Linked DNA regions of Homo sapiens: region 1 is linked to region 2. The links are contacts of gene promoters, found by promoter capture Hi-C in human tissues and cell types (Jung and others, 2019). All regions are on one chromosome and are shown on one strand. The core of a region is centred on a gene start or on the middle of the fragment in contact, and the rest is flanking DNA. Distances in the headings are between cores, read along the strand shown.

Region 1 (7,649 bases), core at 3,889-6,388, 61 kb after region 2:
TAGCCTCAAACTCCTCACCTCAAGTGATCCTCCTACCTCAGCCTCCCAAGTAGCTGGGACGAAAGGTACATGCCATCTCCACTGAGCCCAGCCTTCAATGTATTTTTGCATATTGATATTGCAACCTGCAACCTTGCTGAACTTATTAGTTCTAACATGTGTGTGTATTCCTGACGGTTTTCTGCATAAAGAACCATGTTGTCTGCAAATAAAGACTTCCTTTCTAATCTGGGTGCCTTTTATTTTTATTTATTGTATGGTTGCTCTGGCTAGAACCTCCAGTACAATGTTGAATAGAAGTTGCAAGAGCTGACATGCTTGCATTATTCTTGATCTTAGGGTAAAATAATTCAGTTTTTCATCGTTAAGTATGATATTAGCTGTAGGTTTTTCATAGATGCCTTTATGATGTTCTCTTTCAAGTTTGAGAATTTTTATTATGAATTGGATTTTGTCAAATGCTTTTTCTGCATCTATTGAGATGATAGTGTAACCAAGGAATTGTGAAAAAAGAAAAAAAGATGAGAATACTGTTTTGATACTTTATTAATATAGTATGTTATGTTAATTGATTTTAGGATATTAAACCATCTTTGCATTCCTAGGATGAATGTCAGTTGGCCAGAGTATATAATCCCTTTTATATATTGCTGGATTCAGGATCAAACTGAATTTTAAAAATATACTGACTTTGGAGGAAATTCAGAAATTTGTCAAGTGAAGTGGCCTCCTTATAAAAATATTGATGGTTTAACGATATTCTTAAAAATTAGAAAGTTCAAATATCAATATCTTTTGTCATTAGGACTAATAACCCAAAAGATTTAAAAATAATTATATTAAGTATAATTAATATGCCAATTAACAATGTAGAATGTTTTCAAACTATGAATTTTTTAAACATTATTTTATTTTATTTTATTTTATTCACTTAAATAAGGGAAAGTCTGTTTGTTTGCTTTTGTGAAAGTTCATTCATTTCTTAATGATGTTTTTCAAGACTAGTATTTATTTTATTTCACCATTACAATTATAGACTAATAATCTCATAATCTTTCTAAACATAAAAATTCAGACAGTTCACATTATGAATTTTTTATTTGTTTATTTATTTATTTTATTTTTTGAGATGGAGTTTTGCTGTTGTTGCCCAGGCTAGAGCGCAATGGTGCAATCTCGGCTCACCACAACCTCTACCTCCGGAGTGCAAGTGATTCTCCTGCCTCAGCCTCTTGAGTAGCTGGGATTGAGGGCATGCGTCACTACACTCAGCTAATTTTTTGTATTTTTAGTAGAGATGAGGTTTCACCATGTTGGTCAGGCTGGTCTTGAACACCTGACCTCTGGTGATCTGCCCGCCTCAGCCTCCCAAAGGGCTGGGATTACAGGCGTGAGCCACTGCGCCCGGCATGAAATTTTAATAGCTAGTCTTCGTTTTGAACAGTGAACATTATAGATCTATCCCCCAATTCATCCTCTTTTTTCAAAATGAGTTTAAAAAGGTCTCTCTCTTTTTCACAAGCTAGAAAGTATCCTTCGTATGATGAAGATTCAAATTGCATCTTATTATCATGTCCTGGGACACTTCTCTGAAAGAATATGATGTCACTTTTTGTATCCTTGATGTTATCAGGAGGATTCATTTCCTATAGAGAAAAAAACATTACCTAATTATTTCAGGACATGAACAATTTGAATATATGAAGTTTGTTTTGAAGTATATTACCAAACAGAACAAAAGTAGTTTTGCTTCTCAAGAGTTACATAAAAAAAATCTCTGAACAGCAGTACTGACCTCCTCTCCTTCTTAACTCCGAATCTCCTATTCTCCCTGTCATGGGATGCATATTCAGTTCCAGGCCTCTAGTTTTCCCCTATACATCAAACAGCTTACTTCTCTCCTCTCCCATTGAGTGGTGTCCACATTTGCTCAAGATTAAGTAGAGTTCCAGCAAAGACCACAAGCTTTTTGGGCTAATGTCAATTTCTGTCCTCTATAATAACCATTCACGGCTAAAGACGATGATGACCTCCTCCCACAAACTTAGGCTAGTTCTAGTTTCTTTTTCTTTTTGCTTTGAGACAGGGTCTCGCTCTGTTGCCCAGCCAGAAGTGCAGTGGTGAAATCATAGCTCACTGCAGCCTTGAATTCCTGGGCTCAAGCAATCCCCCTGCCTCAGCCTCCTGAGTAGCTGGGACTGTAAGTATACACCACCACATTTGGCTAATTTTTAAAATTTATTTTTGTAGAGAAGGGGTCAGGGGGTATCTCACTTTGTTGCCTAGGCTGGTCCTGAACTCCTGGCCTCAAGTGACCCTCCCACTTCGGCCTCCCAAAGTGCTGGGATTCCAGGTGTAAGCCACCATGCCTGGCCTGGCCAGTTCTCATTTCTGAGCCAACTGTGAGAGAGACAGAAAGTGCCAGGAATCTTAGCTTACTCTTTCAGTGGAGCCTGAAATTAAAACTTACAGTGAATAGACCCAATAATTGTTGTAGGGCTAGGCCCTGGGTTCCTGTGTAAGCCTGCTGTATTGGCTCAGTTGGCAGTCCTTGACTCTGTCTTCCTGCCAAGCACTCCAGTTCCATAGTAGTCTTGAATTTCTGTCCTGAATATGGTCTCCTTGGCTGGGCCCTGCCTTAGAAGGCCAAATGCAGATTCTTGTATGTTTCAGTCACAGAATAGGGTCTTGTGAGAAATGGTTAGATTACTTGAAACTATAATCTTGCAGGTTATCCAACTGGTAGTGCTGCCTGCACTTTTCCTGTTAGTGCAGCATGTCTATTTTGCAGGATGGATCAGAACATGTGGGCACCACCTAAGGTTCTTCCATGTTAATCCTGGAACCAGTAGATGTTTTGGACTTAATTTTGGCCTCATGGCAGCACAGATTCCCATGATCCTAAGCACTGATAGAGAAACCTCCAAAATTAAAATAGCATTTCTTCATCCTTCAAAGAGCCTGAAAGACTCTGGATGGCAGAGGTCACGGGGTTACCTCCAACTTCTCAATCAGTTGTGGAATCAGTAGTCATAACTCTTGACCTTTGTTCTTTATCAACAAGTGTGGGTCCTAAGTTGATGAAAGTATAAACTAGTTCCCCTATTGGCACCCACTTCTGCAGCTGTCTACAATATACAATTTAGGAAGAGACCCTAAGCTGTGGGCATCAATTTGGAACTAATCTGAAATCTAATGTATAAATGAGAAATAATCCATAGCCAAAACTTCAAAAGCTCTAGTAACATTACAGGGGAAGATGAACCAGTATAGAAAGTTACAGTTGAGCCGGGTGCGATGGCTCACGCCTGTAATCCCAGCACTTTGGGAGGCTGAGGCGGGCGGATCACAAGTTCAGGAGATCGAGACCATCCTGGCTAACACGGTGAAACCCCGTCTCTACTAAAAATACAAAAAATTAGCTGGGCATGGTGGCAGGCGCCTGTAGTCCCAGCTGCTTGGGAGGGTGAGGCAGGAGAATGGCGTGAACCCGGGAGGCAGAGCTTGCAGTGAGCTGAGATCGTGCCACTGCACTCTAGCCTGGGCGACAGAGCGAGACTCCGTTTCAAAAAAAAAGAAAAAAAGAAAAAAAGAAAAAAAGAAAGTTACAGTTGAAAGCGAGAGTGTGGATAGGTAGAACAGGCAATCTCTTTAATCACACTTATTGCACATTTCAGAATAGAGGTAAGGACATCCTTGGGCAGTAGCTTTCCTAGTTTTGATGTTGACCACTCCCAGCCATCATAGGGAAGGTACATAGCAAATGGATGTGAAAGCAATCCCAATGACCTTGGAGAACCCCCAACTTGGAAAGCCCTACCTGGTGAAACTTGAGTGCTCCAAGGGGAAAGGGATTTCTTTCTTTTTTTTTTTTTTTTTTTTACATCAGAAGGGGTTGAATCTGAATCCAGGGAAAGTTGATATTGACCTAACATCTCCCAAGTGCACTGGAAAGTCTGAGGGAACCCTGGCCAAGCCTGGATATAGATACATATATACATGTATATGTATATATATGAAACAGACACTGACAGTAACCTCTCAAAGCAAATCCCTCTTAGTGTTGTCAAGGTTCTTGACCAAAGAACTTTATAGGACTTTATAGCTAGTAATCAACAGTGAAAGGTGAGCACATAAGGGTAGCCTGTTGTATCTTTTTCTTTTTTTGAGACAAAGTCTCATTCTGTCGCCCAGGCTGGAGTGCAGTGGTGCGATCTCAGCTCACTGCAGCCTACACCTCCTGGTTTCAAGCGATTCTTCTGCCTCAGGCTCACGAGTAGCTGGGATTACAGGTGCATGCCACCATGCCTGGCTAATTTTTGTATTTTTTTTAGTAGAGACAGAGTATCGCCATGCTGGCCAGGCTGGTCTTGAACTCCTGATCTCAAGTGAGACACTCGCCTTGCCCTCCCAAAGTGCTGGGATTATAGGCATGAGCCACTGTGCCTGGCCTGTTGTATCTTATTATCTAGAACCTAGGCCACTTTTATAACCACTGCTAAGATCCTTATTAGTGGCAGGAAAAGGGATTAAAGACAAGGGCTAAAACTGGTCCTAGTCCACCCCTCACTCTCTCCCCCCCTCCAACTAATATTTATTGAGTTCCTTCCAGAAGCAGATTTGCTATGATGCTGATGAAGCTTAAATGTCAGATTCCCTCATTTGCACAGATCTCTTCCAGCCACCCCCCGCCCTTTTTAAAATTTGAATTAAAATTTGAATTAAATTATTAAGCTTATGCCTTTGGTAATTTTACTTTTTTTTTTTTTTTTTTTTGAGACCGAGTTTTGCTCTTGTTGCCCAGGCTGGAGTGCAATGGCACGATCTAGGCTCATCGCAACCTCTGCCTCCCGGGTTCAAAAGATTCTCCTGCCTCAGCCTCCCGAGTAGCTGGGATTACAGGCATATGCCACCACGCCCAGCTAATTTTGTATTTTTAGTAGAGATGGGGTTTCTCCATGTTGGTCAGGCTGGTCTTGAACTCCTGACTTCAGGTGATCCGCCCCCCTCGGCCTCCCAAAGTGCTGGGATTACAGGTGTGAGCCACCACGCCCAGCCACATTCTTTTTCTTTAAAAGGGCCATCAAAATTGAATAAACTTCAGGCTCCCCCAAATATGGATTTGCCCAGTTCCTACTAAGTGCCAAGCATTATTTCCATCTTCTTAACATTTTCACCAGTCTCCCTCAACAAGAATCCACCTGTAGGTTCGGACTTATCCCAGTTTCTGAATCTGCCTCTGCAGCTGAGTTTTCCTCTATCCCACATAGCTTGAGCTTGGCCATCTCCTTCCCTTCTAATTATGTTGTTCAGTAACAGCATGCTTAACCCTTTCCACCCTACCCTTCCATCCCAGGCCTCTTATGCTATTTTGATAACTAAGCTGCCTGTCAGGTCTAGAATGGGGACTCCAAATTGTCACCTGAAGGGGTGGCACTCTGGTTGGAGGGAGATAGCTGAGGGATTTGTCTGGGGGCTGTATCTGTTGCATATGCACTGTTCTTACTTGGATTATATTTTAGAGTGGCTTTTTTCTCCCTACCAAGTTGCCCCTTGGTACCTTCACTAAGGTCATATCCTAACTGTCTTTCAGTGGGGACTGGGTGGGCATGAAAGCGGTTATTTATTGGCAAATCTCCACTCAAAAAGAGTCTTCATGACATGGAATTCTCCTCTGAAGCATTGCCAATTTGTAAGCATCCCTGGCTACTCTTACTGGCTCAGTCTGTAGCTATAGTTAATTGTGGTTTATCTAACAATAATGGAGGAAATAGAGAAAAATAATAGAGAATAATAATGGAGAATAATAGAGAAAAAGTAGAGGCCAGAAATACTTTATACCTGGCTTGAAGATAATTATAGCATTACTTTTACAGCTGATCTCATAACTTTTATTCAATTAGATTAACATTAAAAATAACATACATCAACTGGAAGCTGAAGCTTGTGTCTAAGACTTAGGCTAAGGATCAGCAACAAAACAACTAGGGATTAAAATATTATCATAATTTACAAAGGTGTAGAAATATAGAAGGATAATTAGCTTCATTCTTCATAGCAGAACTCATTCTGGAAAGTCACATGTTATTCTTAAATGTATAACTCACATATGTATTCTACATTATTATTTGTATAAAGACTGATTGTTCAGGAGATGCAGGTCATAAAACAAGTGTTGTATCTCCTCTTCCCTGTGACAGGCTCAGAAAAACCATCATTATCACAATAGGTAAAGAGTTTGATAATTTTTAGTAAGTATTCATTTTAATGGTTCTCTGCTTCTTGTTATTTCTGTTCTAGACAAAAGGTTGGTCTGAGGATATTTGAGTTTTCTAATTACATTACTTATATTAACATTAGAAATAATGTTATATTTCTAATTATATTAATTATATTAACATGATTGAAAACAAAGTAAGGCTCAGTCTTACCTTAAAGGAAATAATTTTGTTCTCACAGGAGAGAGTTGAAATTTTCTCACACTTCACAGAGATAGTTACAGCCATACCTCTAGGCTGGCTATCTTTATACATACTTATAATAAATATGGTCCGGGGTGCATTATCTGAAATAAATATAATAAATGAGAACTCTAGTTAGAAGAATTCTTGCACAGGAACATTTGCGGAAATTTAACCAAAGGATAGTCCTTAATACACCTGTTCCCACTTTGAGACTTGGCCAGTCTGCAGGAGACTATGTACAGCTGGTCAGACATTTTTAAAAACACAGTTCAGGCCTGGCACAGTGGCTCATGCCTGTAATCCCAGCATTTAAAAGTTAAAAACAACCTTTTATAATCTATATCATTATACTCATAAAAGTTGCAGCATGTGTGTTGTAACACATATTAAACTGTGGGGTTGTTTGTTTGTTTGGGAGGCTGAGGCAGGCAGATCACTTGAGGTTAGGGGTTTGAGACCAGCCTGGCCAACATGGTGAAACCCCAGCTCTACTAAAAATACAAAAATTAGCCGGGTGTAAGTGGTGCATGCCTGTAATCCCACCTACTCGGGAGACTGAGGCATGAGAATCGCTTGAACGTGGGAGGTGGAGGTTGTAGTGAGCCGAGATCACACCACTGCACTGCACTGCACTTCAGCCTGGGTGACAGAGTGAAACTGCATCTCAAACAAACAAACAACCCCACAGTTTAATGTGTATTACAACACACACGCTGCAACTTTTTTGAGTATTTTAAAGATATGAATTCTAAAAGATTGTTTTTAACTTTTAAATGCTAAATAAAATATTTAAAATATATGTTAAGGTAAGTATTCAGTATTTTTAAAGAATGCACATTCACTGCTTCAACTCAGCCTAACTTTGATATTTGGAATTCATATTTTGGAAGGCACAGTAGACTTGATCATTTTCTTTTCTTAAGTTTTTTTTTTTTTTTTTTTTTTTTTAATTTTAGAGACAAGGTCTGTATATCACCCAGGCTGGAGTGCAGTGGCTATTCACAGGTACGATCACAGTGTACTACAGCCTCAAAGTCCTGGCCTCAAGCAATCCTCCTGCTTGAGCCTCCCAAGTAGCTAGGATTACAGATAGATGCCACCACACCTGGTAAACTATCAGCATTTTCAGCTGTAACAAGCAGGGATTAAGCATCCAACTATAGAGGTTTTAAACAGTTAATGCAA
Region 2 (2,700 bases), core at 201-2,700:
CTTTCTGTACAATCTGGGCAAACCGACTGGTGATGGCAAGAGTGGTGTCAATGAAGCGGTCTACACAGCTGGAGAGACAATTTTCAGTGCGAGAGTCTAGGCGATTCCCTGGCTTCTCCACACATTTATCCCAACATAACTCCATGAAGTGATGCACCTAAAAGGAAAGAAAAATAGTAACCATTGGGGTCTGCAGATAGGCCTAACTCTTGTTTATTAACTTCTCACTTTTTGACACCTGACAAAACCATTCTTTAAATCAACCACGGAGTCACTTTGGGCTCTTCTCTTTCTTCATTTCCTAATTAGTCACCAATATTGATCCAGATCCTCGTCCCTACAGATTGTACATTCTCAGGTAGGACTAATAACCTTTTATATTCCCCAAAGTAGCTAGCACCATTGTGAACCAACTAGGGAACCAATTAATTTTCCCAAACTATTGCACTCATTTTATTCCAAACCTATCCCCTAGACAAGGTAATTCTTCCATTAACCTTTTGGGGGTTATGGATCCACTCCCCAGAAAAATGCACATACAGGCACAGAAATTATGTGCACTGTCATTAGAATGTTCAGGGCCCAAAGATTTCTAGCCAGGGTTCTTGCTGGTCATCCGAGCACCCTCTTCCTCCCACCCAAAAGGAAAAAACCATTTTACCAAGAGCTTACTATTTGTGAGGCTGGGTACTAAGAAATCAGTTCTCTCTAAGGTCCTCAAGGATAGCTGTCATCACCTCCCATTTAAGAGGCGTGATTATGTAGTCCAAGGTCATGTAGCCAGCAAGAAGTCAGGCCGCGTTAGAACCATGTCCGAAGGGCTCCAAACCCTTGTTCTACATCCATAGTCTACAGCGACTACTTCAGAGTCCACCTTCCTCCGATAATGTTCTAGTCGTTTTCAAATACATTGTCGCATATGATCCTCACAATCCAGTGAGGCAGTGGGGTGACGGCGACACCAAAACCCACAGTGGATGAGTATCTTTTCTACGGGCACGTGGCCTGCAAGGAGCAGAGGGAGGATGAGAACCCAGATCTTTCGAATGCCAGCCCAGTCATGTCGCCGGCTAACTAGTCTCCCGTACCCTTGCGTCGCCCAAATCTTCCCTGTTTTACACCTTTTCTTTTCTCCACGCTACGCTTATATACCTGGCACCTGAGCACTACCGGTCACCAGGGACAGGAGAGCCATAACTTTGTCTTTCGTGAGGGGAATGGGATGCAGCCGGGATCGAGCACCAGTGAGCCGCCAGTGTACAGACCTCCGAGCGTGCCCAGGACCACCAAGGAAGGTGAAACTTCCTTTCCCTTCACCCTCCCCGTCCCCGCACCTGTGCAGTAAACTGCGCCTTCTGCTGCTCGGCGGCCACCAGGCGCTGCAACTCCGCTTCATCGGCTTCGCCCAGCTCCGCCATTGTTCGCCTCAGGCTCGCCACCTTCCGACAGCTGTGTTTGCGCATGCGCGACGGGTGTGCACCGCCTCTCGACTTCCGGTTCACCCAGCATTTCCTCTTCCCTGTTTTCTTTCGTCGTCGTGGGTGGGAATTGTCGCCTAAGTGGTTCCGGGTTGGTGGATGACCTTGAGCCCTCAGGAACGAGATGGCGGTTCTCTGGAGGCTGAGTGCCGTTTGCGGTGCCCTAGGAGGCCGAGGTGAGGGGTCTTCCCACCCTGAGGTGCTTAGCGTAGCCTCCAGCCAGGGAAGGGGATGGAAGTGAGGACTCATCTGCCGGGTGGGAGATCTCTTGAGGAGAAGAAAATACCGAAATCACAGCAATGACCACTGTAGTCTAGGGGTCCAGATGTTTACCCGAAGGTATATTTCACTTGCTGTGAGCTGACGAGTTGAGGGAATAATCAGAAAGAGAGCTCCCTCTGGAAGTCGCAGTCCTGATGAGGCTAATCCACATAGCAGTTCTGTTTTCTCCCCGTTCACTGTCCCTAGAATGCTCCCCACTCGCTCCCACCCTGAGTCGGGAAAGAGGGTTAGGAGCTTGCCCATTTCTTCTGGAGTTGGTGTGTTTGGATGTGGGAGTGGAGGGGGGATCAGTTCGAAAATCATTTAACCTGGGCATTTGTGTTACCTCAGGTACTGTAGTAATGCTAGGATACAAATGTGAAGAAAACGTAGTTCCCGCCCTCAACGAGCTTTCATTCTGATGAGGAAAACACTGTCATAGTAGTCCGGGCAAGATGAGGTCCTGAACTAGGAAAGTAGCACAAAGAAAAGAAGATTGTCTCAAGAACTGTTAAAGAGATACGCCAATAGGATTTGGCGATTGAATTTAGGGGAAAAGTCTCTCATGATTTCCAGATTACTGAGTTAGGTTAAAGAATGCCTGAGGTGTCATTAAATAAAGTAGGGAACATGCAGATGTTCCCTGGTCTTAACTTCACAGTAACCCCAGTGAAATAGATGCTATCTTCATTTTACAAATAAGATGTTATCCCCTATTTATTGTTAAGTAGCTTACCTATGGTCATTTAGAAAGTTTGTCAGTCCTGTTAAAGGAGAGGTTCTTATGATCATCCTAATGACTCTTTCCTCAGCTCTGTTGCTTCGAACTCCAGTGGTCAGACCTGCTCATATCTCAGCATTTCTTCAGGACCGACCTATCCCAGAATGGTGTGGAGTGCAGCACATACACTTGTCACCGAGCCACCATTGTATGTTCTCTCCATCGCTGCTGCTTTCTGGG

The links. Contacts are between HindIII fragments. The study calls those that stand out against the background at their distance.
Region 1: a fragment that was not itself captured here is called in contact with the fragment with the promoter of TIMM8B in region 2 in 1 of the 25 tissues and cell types used here (aorta).

The regions. Positions count from the first base shown.
Region 1 is chr11:112,142,172-112,149,820 of GRCh38, forward strand. IL18 (interleukin 18) reads right to left here. Exons shown (of 6, transcript NM_001562.4): 5 at 6,432-6,565; 6 at 1,089-1,646. The coding sequence ends at 1,425. Among named protein-coding and RNA genes, the nearest start is that of IL18, 18 kb to the right of the region's middle. RefSeq lists enhancers at 1,157-1,326, 3,892-4,061. The HindIII fragment of the contact is 3,672 bases long and covers 3,303-6,974 here.
Region 2 is chr11:112,085,306-112,088,005 of GRCh38, forward strand. TIMM8B (translocase of inner mitochondrial membrane 8 homolog B) reads right to left here and starts at 1,451. Exons shown (of 2, transcript NM_012459.4): 1 at 1,335-1,451; 2 at 1-157. The coding sequence starts at 1,418. It overlaps SDHD (succinate dehydrogenase complex subunit D), which reads left to right and starts at 1,568. Exons shown (of 4, transcript NM_003002.4): 1 at 1,568-1,654; 2 at 2,552-2,668. The coding sequence starts at 1,603. RefSeq lists enhancers at 1,006-2,205, 1,569-1,838, 2,532-2,700. The HindIII fragment of the contact is 14,912 bases long and covers 1-2,700 here.